2 separate regions of the Homo sapiens genome follow, and region 2 is linked to region 1. Evidence: promoter capture Hi-C in 16 types of primary human blood cells and fetal thymus (Javierre and others, 2016). All regions are on one chromosome and are shown on one strand. Each heading gives the region's core, a stretch centred on a gene start or on the middle of the fragment in contact. The rest is flanking DNA. Distances are from core to core; before and after follow the strand shown.

Region 1 (5,105 bases), core at 1,243-3,742:
AAGATTATGCCTAGCTGCTTGCCTGACATCCTTATCACAGAAATGGATCAAAGAAAAAAACAAAAAAGAAGAAATATTAGGTGAAACAATGCCAGATACCATCAAGATTACTACAAACGGCCAAGCACGGTGGCTCAGTCTGTAATCCCAGCACTTTGAGAGGCCAAAGCAGAAGGATCGCTTGAGGCCAGGAGTTGGAGACCAGCCGTCTATACGAAAAATTAAAAAGTGAGACCACCATCTCTACAAAAAATAAAAATTTTAGCTAGGCGCAGTCGTGCCCACCTGTAGTCCCGGCTACTACGGAGCCTGGGGTGGGAGGATCACTTGAACCCAAAGAATTTGTTTTTGTGTGTCTTTATTTCCTAAATTCTGTGAGAAGAATAGATTTTTATTTCAAACATTATCTGATATTGGCTTCCAATTTCCCAAGTAGTTTCTCTATTGTTACTGCTGAGCCTGTGAATTTACAATGTTCCACACCACTCCGAAGTTACTAGACAATAAATTAATCGATGAACGCTTTAAAAAGTTGGACTGCTTTAATAAAAAAAAAAAAAACTGGGTCACATGTTCCAACAGAATTCCCTCTTTTAGAGAACTAATTTTACAAAATAATTCAGAGTGGAAGACAAGACACGATGGAATGCTATTTTTGATAATGAGTAGCAGAAAAAAGACCAGAGAATAACACACCCACTGCTACTTTGTTTATACGGTTGTAACTTGCACATGCAAGTACTCTACATAAAGTATTGCACAAGAAGAAACTGTCAAAAATGAATGCTTATGAAAACATTCTTCACTAAGGCCTCTAACAAGGAATGTGCTATCTCTGATTTCCTCGGCAAGTATTGACAGATTAAGCAGAGTGATAATGCTCAAGATGAAAAGACGTCTTATACTAGTTTTTATCAATAGTAAAAGCTGTTGGTACTAATTATAATGGCTGTAAATTCAGTAGCAGAATCAACTTTACAGACGATATCTCCTAGGCAGCACAGCATTTTATAAAACCAACTTTACTTCCATCAAAACCCTTTTTCCCCCCCAATCCGACAGACCCTGGCAACCTGTCTTGCTGTGTCTTTTTTCCCCTACCCTTCCAAAAGAACCCCAGCCAGTGAATCGAAGTAATATTTTCCGCAGTTCAAAGGTAAGGGCAAACTCAGCTCTACTAAGAACTCTTGCTCCTCACCAGCACACACCCTAACCCCCACCCCCTTTTTTTTCTTTTCAAATCTTGGCCTAGGAAAGATTAATGCTCCCATATCATTGCAAATCCACAAAAATGCGATTTTAGGTGGCGAGGAACTAAACTAGGATGGCAGGAAAGACCGGCAGCAATAAATCATTTCGCCCTAGAAACCAGCCTCTCCAGAACGCAGGAAACCAGGCTGTGCCCAAAGAACCTGCCGCCCGGAAGCAACAACTTCCATCAAACGGCAAATAAAAGTTGCAAAGAAGAGCTCAGCGCCCAGGCACCCTGCCCGGTGCCGAGGCTGAGAGCAGCAGGCAATCTACAGGCCGAGTCAGCTCGCGGGCGGTGGCCGCGGTGTCCGCAGGGCTGGCTCCGGCTCCGGAAGACTCCGGGTCCCGGGGTACGCCAACGGCCCGGGGCTGCGCGGGCACAGCGCCCGCACCCCTCCCCAGGACCGCGAGCAGTGGGCGGAGAGACCAGAGCAAGGGAAAAGGCGGACAATGCCCGGCTGGGCTGGCGCGCTCCGCCGGTCCCCGCCAGCCCTGCCCGCCGGGGCCCGCCAGCCGCCGCGCTAAGTTTGCTCCTCAGCCCTCCCTTCCCAGCCGAGGCGGCGGAGCCGTGGTCGCCGGTCTTCCTCCACCTCTGCCACCGCCTTCCTTCCCGCGGGGCGGCTCCCGCGAGTCGGTGGCGAGGCGGCGCGCGACCAGAGCAGGACGCGCGAGAAGGCGGCGCGCGAGGGGTACCCGGGCGCGCGCGAGAAGAGCCAGGCACTGGAGGGGAAGGGGACGTGCGGGAGAGACGGGCGCGCGGCGCTGCCGGCGGAACCGCCGGAGCTCGGGCGGGCTTTCGGTTGAGGCTGGGGTTGCGCCGCGGTTTGGTGTCCGTTACGAGCGCCGGCCCGGGCCGCGCCGCGCCGCTTGCCAGCCATCCTGGACCGCCTTCCCTCGGCGCCCACCAGGAAGGACAGCTGGCGAGGGCCGACGACCTCGTCTCCCGCCCAGGCTGGGCTGCCGGCGGCGGGCATCCCGGCGCCTGCCCCGGGGCTGGAAGAGAAAGTAAAATGAAGCGCCTTTCCCCAGTCAACACCTACCCGTTCCCAGTCCTAGTACAGCTGCCTCGCTCCTCCAGCGCCGCCGGTCCCCGCCCTCGGGCCCCTGGCTCCGTTCTCTTGACAATGGCGCGTCCCCTTTAAGGAATAATCCGATCGGAACCGATCTGTGGTTAAACCTCCCTCCGACTCTGATTTTAACCGGATTTCTCTCTCGCTCTCTCCCAGAGCCCGACGGGCGCCCGGCTGTGCTGCGAGGTCTTCCCACCCCTTCCCTACCCCGCCCGCCCCCTGGCCTTCCTGATTGGCGAGAAACACTACAACAGGAACAGCAGTCCTCGCCCTCCACTGGCCTGGCCAGCCGCCGCTCAAAGTTGCTCCTACCTTCTCCCCGCCCCTTTTCCCGGGTTGGTCTTCCCTCTAATCATTCTCTGCCCTCGCCTCTAACGTTGCTTTGGAGCCCTGGCAGTCAAGGCTCACCCTCCCGCCTCCGGAAAGCGAACTTTATTTTTATTGGTGAAAGGACATCTTCCTGTACACTTGATTGGGCAAGGAAAGAGCTAGTCTGCACGCTCCCTACCATTATTACTCTCTCTTTACGGGCTTGAGAAACACAGCCGCAAAGTCCTCTCCGCTTTGCCTTCTAGGAGCGACTTTACCTTTAAATGTTGTTAGGGGTCGAGGACAAACTCATATCCTATATTGAGGAAAGCTGGAAAGGGACAAGAGAAAAATTCAAAATTTTCTCCCGATCAGTAATGTATCCAGAGCTGGCGCCCGGATCCTGCGGAACCTTATCCAATGATCCAGAGAATGGAATGGTTAGAATTGAGTTAGAATACCTGAAAGTCCAGTGCTAATTCCTCCTGAGATTTACTCAACAAGTTTCATCCACTGTCCGCCCTACTCATACCATTGATTGCACTGGCATTTTGCCACCCGGAAGAGCTTTAATCAAGTTATCTGCAAACCTGGAGGTTTCCTTGCTTGTCTCGCAATTGTTCATTTAGAAAATCATTTCCATTACAAGTTCCGTTTAAGTCACGTCCTCTGTGACGTTCCCGCGTTTCCACGAGACCTGTTACTTTTTTGAAAAAATTAAGTAGATGGTACCCTTATGCCATCCTCAAAGTGTAGGACTTCGTTCCCCCTTGCTAGAACTGTAGGAAAAACACCCCAGGTCACTTGAACAACTGAGATGCCTCTCAGGAGAAAACGAGTCTGTCTAAGGGAAAGAGGGAATCTGATACCAGAAGCTTGACCATGGAGCAGAACCTCACGCATTGAAAAGAGAAGAAATTATGGGGAAGCCTAGTGCGGGGTCTGCTTTAGAGTTTCCCCAGTTTCCCACTGGAGCTGTAAGAACTAAAAGGTTTATTTCCACTAAAATTGAGTACAGGTACAGCTTCGGTACCCATCTAAGAATGTTAGGGGAAAATGGTTATGTGTTCTCTCCCTCTTTGCCGATGAACCTTGAAGACTGTGTACCCCGGGGGCTTTAGTACATTTGCAGTGATACCCCAGTATAATCTAATGGTGCCAAGGAAGTGTCAGTGCTCAGCAGTACCCTAGAAAAGGGGCTTGATGATGACAGAGAAGGGTAAGTAAACATCAGTAGTTGGTAGTTCATAGGACTTTTCCCCAAATACAGGTGAAAAATTTCATGAGGATTCCCGAAAATATGAAAGAGCAGGAAACAAAAGGGAACGTTGCAGGAAGGTGGTTTAGGTATCACTAGTGGGGGCAAGAGACGATGAACTATCTGGGTTGCATTTATATGGCCTTCACAGATACACACATCCTCCCTATTAAGTCCCTATAACTAAATCCCTATGCTTAGCCTATTCTGATTTTACTGTATAATAAAACTGCAGCCAAGCTAAACTAATACTTCTGGTTTACTCACTTACCACTCTCAAACTCTGAGACTGCTTCTGGGTTCTAATATTCTACATTAGAATATAAGAAGAAGAAGATACTATGTACTGATATCTAGTATGATCTTCTGGAGATAAAGATATCCAGTGTTTCAGGCATGTACACACCTGCAGCTTTTGTTCAAGGTCTAAGTGATGTTTTCAGGTTCTTTCTAAAACACCTGCCCTATGATATCCAGCTTGTTACTGCCCTCTTTTGCTGCACTAGCAGACTGGGCATATAAACTAGAGAAGGCAGTCTACAGTAACCTCTAGATTCTCTTACTTGCATTGAACCAACTATGCTGAGATTATCACCTTTCAAGTATAATTTGTGTTATTCTTTTCTCTAAATATTTCATATTTGCCCACAATAGGATCATTTATCACTTTTTAGCCCACACATGCAACTTCCTGGTACTAATACTCCTACTGGCATTTCACAGCAAAGAAGAATTTTAAAAATCTACAAACCTGGAGCTTACAACGTAGAGGTTATTCTTAAGAATGTTCAGTGTTGATGAACACAGCCCCAGTTCTAACCCTGGAGAATTTTACAAGTTGTACTTTCTCATTCAGAGAGACTTTATCTCTCTACCTTAGTTTCTCATTCTAAGCCCAATCCCCACTCTTTAAAAAAAGAATATTTCTCGGCTGGGTGCAGTGGCTCACGCCTGTAATCCCAGCACTTTGGGAGGCCAAGGCAGGTGGATGACTTGAGGCCAGGAGTTCAAGACCAGCCTGGGCAACATGGCGAAACCCCATCTCTGCAAAAAATACAAAAATTAGCTGGTGGGAATGGTCACAGGCCTGTGATCCCAGCTACTGGGGAGGCTGAGGCAGGAGAATCACTTGAACCCGAAAGGCGAAGGTTGCAGTGAGCCAAGATTGCACCACTGTACTCCAGCCTGGGCGACAGAGTCTCACTCTGTCACACACA
Region 2 (5,105 bases), core at 1,037-3,536, 870 kb before region 1:
ACTGGACAGAGATAATGAGAACATTCATAACCTGATAAATGTATTCACCTAACATCATCTCAAAGTAAAGAGAAGCTGACAAGACAACCTTCTCACGTATTATTTCTTACAGCCAAATCTCAACTGTCCAGGTAGAGAATGCTTGTTTTCTTTTTCTTTTCTTTCTTTTTTTTTTTTTTTTGAGACGGAGTCTTGCTCTGTCGCCCAGGCTGGAGTGCAGTGGGGCAATCTCGGCTACTGCAAGCTCCGCCTCCCGGGCTCACGCCATTCTCCTTCCTCAGCCTCCCGAGTAGCTGGGACTACAGGCGCCTGCCACCCCGCCCGGCTAATTTTTTGTATTTTTAGTAGAGACGGGGTTTCACCCTGTTAGCCAGGATGGTCTCCATCTCCTGACCTCATGATCTGCCCGCCTCGGCCTCCCAAAGTGCTGGGATTACAGGCTTGAGCCACCGCGCCCGGACAGAATGCTTGTTTTCCTTCTACCCACGAGATGGAGACCATCCTGGCTAACACGGTGAAACCCCGTCTCTACTAAAAAAAAAAAACCAAAGAACAAAAAACAAAACATTAGCCAGGCGTGGTGGCAGGCGCCTGTAGTCCCAGCTACTCGGGAGGCTGAGGCCGGAGAACGGCCTGAACCCAGGAGGCAGAGCTTGCAGTGAGCCGAGATTGCGCCACTGCACTCCAGCCTGGGCGACCAGCGAGACTCTGTCTCAAAAAAAAAAAAAAAAAAAAAAAGTTTACCAAACCTGTTCACACGTCTCCATATTGTATACCTTATCATCACGGCCATTAACTGCATGCTAAGAGAATACCACCTACCTTTCAAATTAGCCTAGGAGAAAAATCATTCAAGATACTCAATTCTGCTCCACACCCCCCAAAAAAATGTATCCTGAAATGCATTCCAAACACAAAAATAAAATGATTTCAGGGATTATTCCCTCGGCCCCATGCACAATTGTGTGTAAGTCCTCCCTGGCTCCACGAAAACATGGTCTTGGATGAAAAGTATTGATATATCGGAGGCAACACCAGATATGTCCACAGAAGGACATGGAATTTGTAAATAGGAACTACAGTCAAGGAAGGTATCAAAAGCTCAAGTGCTTACAAGGAATAAGACAAGTCAAGAAACAAAGGCAAAGGTAAAGATGACAAATGACACCTGGCTCCAGAAATGAGAGAGAATGTGAGATGGAATGCCCAAGTCCAATCTAAATGGGATTTCTGTGACTCAGCCGAGCTGACTGTTGCCATGCACAAAGATAACTAAAGCCACAAGGTTGTTAACCAGATTTTTAAAAACGACAAACAACCGCTGACAATCAATCCACATTTAAAACTCTGTGTTAACCAAACAACATTATAGACCAAATCAGAACACCGGGCCACAATTTACAACTGATGGTCTGGAGATTCAAGTAGGCAAGAGTGGAGGGAAGTAACAAAGGTAATACCACCTAAAATTAAGATGAAAGAGGTGCGATGGAAATCTACCTAGAGTGCCGAAAAGAGCAGCCACCCGAAAGGCTGGAGAAGTGGGCCCGATAACAAACTCCCGAACGAGGGGAAAAGCAGTGAAAGAAAGAAGGCGAGGGCGGAGGCGGTCCTGACTAGTAACTGCCTTAGGAGGCATCCAGGTGAGCACGCGGGCGGGAGCCATTCTCACCGCTGGCTGCGGTAGTCTGCAGGGCTTGGGATCCTGCGGGGCTGTGCCTGCTCCCTGCAGCCGCCGTGGTCGCGACTCCTCCGGGACTGGTGCCAGAAGGAACTGCGCCCACCGACCCCTTCTCTCGCCCTCCTCCGGCGCCGCGGAGATGGACTCCATTTCCTGAGGGGGCGGCAGTGGCCCGTCCCCGGGATCGGCCTCGGCCACCGGCCACCTGGCGCCAGGAAGCTTCCATCCCTGCAAAGGAGAAAAAAAAAAAAAAGAGTGGAAGGAGGTGAGCGCAGCGAGGACCGAGGCGAAGGAGGGTCAGTGCGGAAACCCGGTGTGAGGGGCCGAGTGAGGAAGGTTCCTGCAGGGCGGCGACCGGGTTTTAGGAGGTCGCGGCCCTGCCTTTACCGGAGGGCGAGTCCCCGCCAAGCCCGGGCTTTGGAGATGGACCGAAGAGGGGAGGGAGGACTAGGTACAGAAATAAACCGCGGAGCAAGAAGCACACAGTGCCGAAGACAGAAAGCCGGAGGAGAAGTCGAAACCGCCTCCTCAGCCTCTGCGGGAGCGTGGTAGGGGAAGAGTCACAGACTGACCCTGCGTCTCCCGCCGGGAACCAACTGCAGTGGTACACCCCACGGAAAGCTACGTCTCCTTACCGACTGCGCACGCCCCCAACAGACTACAACTCCCAGAAGCCCCCGCCCGCGTTCCGGCGACTGCGTGGCAGCACGGGCCGCTTCCTTATCCGGTAAAGTGCGGGGGTTGGGTGGGAGGGAAACCCCAAGCGCCTGCGCTGGCCCGAACAGGCCTTTGGGAACTACAACTCCCGGCGTGCTCTGGGGCTAGGGAGGGGTCGAAGGTCATAGGGGCGCGTGGTGGTGGAGGCGGGCGGGTCCGGAGGGTTTCGTGACCCCACAATTTGCTTCTGCTTCTGCAAGACTGCCCTAAACTCACCTGGGTATGAGGATTACATGGCTCTGTCCCTAATTGGCTCTCTGCCATCTTTTATTAGCCTTGCCTTTGAGCTTGCGGATGACAGGAGGTGTCAATGTAAAATAATCAAAAGCGCGAAGTTTGAGGATAGCCTACCTAGAAACACCGACTCCAAGGAAGGAGTCAGCGTTCCGAAGTAGAGATTTAAGATTTCACTTATATAGGCAGAAACTGAGAGGTTTTTTAGCAGGATTACAGCATTTTCTCATACAAGGTTAGAGAATAGTTACAACAATTTGATTATAGACAGTGTTTCTTTTTGGGAAGTGTACATTTAACATTTTTCATAAAGGATTTTCTGTCATCTGGTCTAAGCAAACCGGGGCAACAAAGCAGAAGTTAATCTATAAGGATCATTAAGAAGGCAGGAAGTTTTTGTCCTTAACTTCGTTTAATTCTCTCTAGCCATTGTATAGAACAAGAAAAATAAGAAAGCAAGTTAATCTATAATCTGAGAAACAGAAGTTGTAACCACGTGTAACTCAGATGACAGTCACATCTCTCTCCAGGCTTAGTGAGTTTTAGGCTCCAACAACCTTTAAACTATTTATTTTCATAGGGAAGTCTCACTAACAGGAAAGGCACTTACATTGAAAACGCTTTGAGGTTGGCCACTGTGAAGGAGGGAAATTCGGGGGAGAGTTGCAGGAAAGTGGCTTGAGTAGTAAAAGTACCCTTCTAAAATGCTAGAGCCAATGTAGAAAATAAATCTAAAGCCTGTTATTGTCATAGTCCTTTGTAGTGTGCAATGAGCTTTCCCTGGGACATGCTAATTTTTACCTTCACAGCATCTCCCTAAAGTAGATTTTGTTAAGGAAAATAGTTGAGGGCCAGGACCTAAATCTTATGATTTTGCTGAGTTTTCCAATAAGATACATGTGCATATATACTGACAGGTAGATTGCAAAAATTCATTCTGGGGTCTGTCTGGGATTGAGAAACATATTGATGGCTTATTGTACAGTCCTTCAACTTAGTTAATTCTTCTATTTTAACCATAAATTTCTATTATAATATTTAGATAGCATTTATTAGATGTCAGGCACTGTTTAAAGTGTTTTACGTTATGTATTAACTAATTTGGTACTCACAGTAACCGTGTTTATTATCCCCGTTTTACAACTGAGAACACTGAGGCACAGAGAGATTAAGCAATTTGCCCTTGATCATACAGCTAGGAAGTAGTGAAGCCAAGATTCAATCCTAAGTAGTCTAGTATTAGAAACCATGCTTTTAATGTCTTAAACATAGATATTGCAGAATTGCCTGTACATTAACCAAACTCAAAAATGACATCCCATGGCCAGGCATGGTGGCTCACGCCTGTAATCCTAGTACTTTGGGATGCCAAGGCGGGTGGATCACCTTAGGTCAGGAGTTTGAGGCAAGCCTGGCCAACATGGCGAAACCCTGTCTCTATTAAACATACAAAAATTAGCTGGGCATGGTGGTGGGTGCCTATAATCACAGCTACTAGGGAGGCTGAGGCAGGAGAATTGTTTGAACCCAGGGGGCGGAGGTTGTAATGAGCCAAGATCGCGCCACTTCACTCCAGCCTGGGCAAAAGAGCAAAACTCCGTCTCAGAAAAATGAAAAGAAGAAAAGAAATAACATCTCTGAGAATGATATAACTTCATTGGCTAGAAACTAACAGGTGCACAGCAACTCTCTTAATGCTGCACTTGTATAAGAACTGTAAGTTTAAAGCTGCAACCAGCTTTCAAAGTTTGAAAACCCTAAAGTGAGACTTTTCTTCAGTGGGGTTTTCACATACAGGAAAGGAGCTGTTATACTCTGAGAGAGAATATAGTAATTATCACTGAGTAATGTCCAAGAAGTATTGAGTGGCTACTAAAAAGAGAGATCCTTCTTAGAATTATGTTATATGCCAGAGAGCTGGACTAGCATATTATCTAAATTTCCATGTCAAACTTTATTGAGAAATTTTTTCTGTTCCCTCAAATATTCAATAGCTAATAACAGTGACCAGCAATCCTTGAGTGCTTTCTATGTGCCAGCATTCTTCTAGGTCCTTTTTTCTTTTACTCATCTAATCTTCACAATAACCATGAAGTAGGTATTGTTATCGTCAAAACAATTTTTTTTTATTATACTTTAAGTTCTAGGGTACGTGTGCACAATGTGCAAGTTTCTTACATAGGTATACATGTGCAATGTTGGTTGGCTGCACACATCAACTTGTCATTTACATTAGGTATTTCTCCTAAAGCTATCCCTCCACCAGCCCCCCACCCTGCAACAGGCCCTTGTGTGCGATGTTCCCCTCCATGTGTCCATGTGTTCTCAGTGTTCAACTCCCACTTATGAGTGAGAACATGTGGTGTTTGGTCTTCTGTCCTTGTGATATTTTGCTGAGAATGATGGTTTCCAGCTTCATCCATGTCCCTGCAAAGGACATGAACTCATCCTTTTTTATGGCTGCATAGTATTC

What was found. The method cuts DNA at HindIII sites, captures the fragments that hold promoters and counts their contacts. A CHiCAGO score of 5 or more calls a contact.
Region 2: a contact is called between the fragment with the promoter of NFXL1 here and the fragment with the promoter of FRYL in region 1, in 4 of 17 cell types (monocytes, fetal thymus, naive CD4 T cells and 1 more). The highest score is 11.0, in monocytes.

The regions. Positions count from the first base shown.
Region 1 is chr4:48,777,787-48,782,891 of GRCh38, forward strand. It overlaps FRYL (FRY like transcription coactivator), which reads right to left and starts at 2,493. Exons shown (of 64, transcript NM_015030.2): 1 at 2,292-2,493. RefSeq lists silencers at 1,459-2,338, 2,429-2,538. The HindIII fragment of the contact is 8,638 bases long and covers 1-3,503 here.
Region 2 is chr4:47,912,297-47,917,401 of GRCh38, forward strand. NFXL1 (nuclear transcription factor, X-box binding like 1) reads right to left here and starts at 2,287. Exons shown (of 23, transcript NM_001278624.2): 1 at 2,069-2,287; 2 at 1,673-1,909. The coding sequence starts at 1,907. LOC101927157 (a long non-coding RNA gene) reads left to right here and starts at 1,931. Exons shown (of 3, transcript NR_125879.1): 1 at 1,931-2,408. RefSeq lists enhancers at 1,155-1,841, 1,842-2,527, 2,038-2,267. The HindIII fragment of the contact is 5,032 bases long and covers 1,899-5,105 here.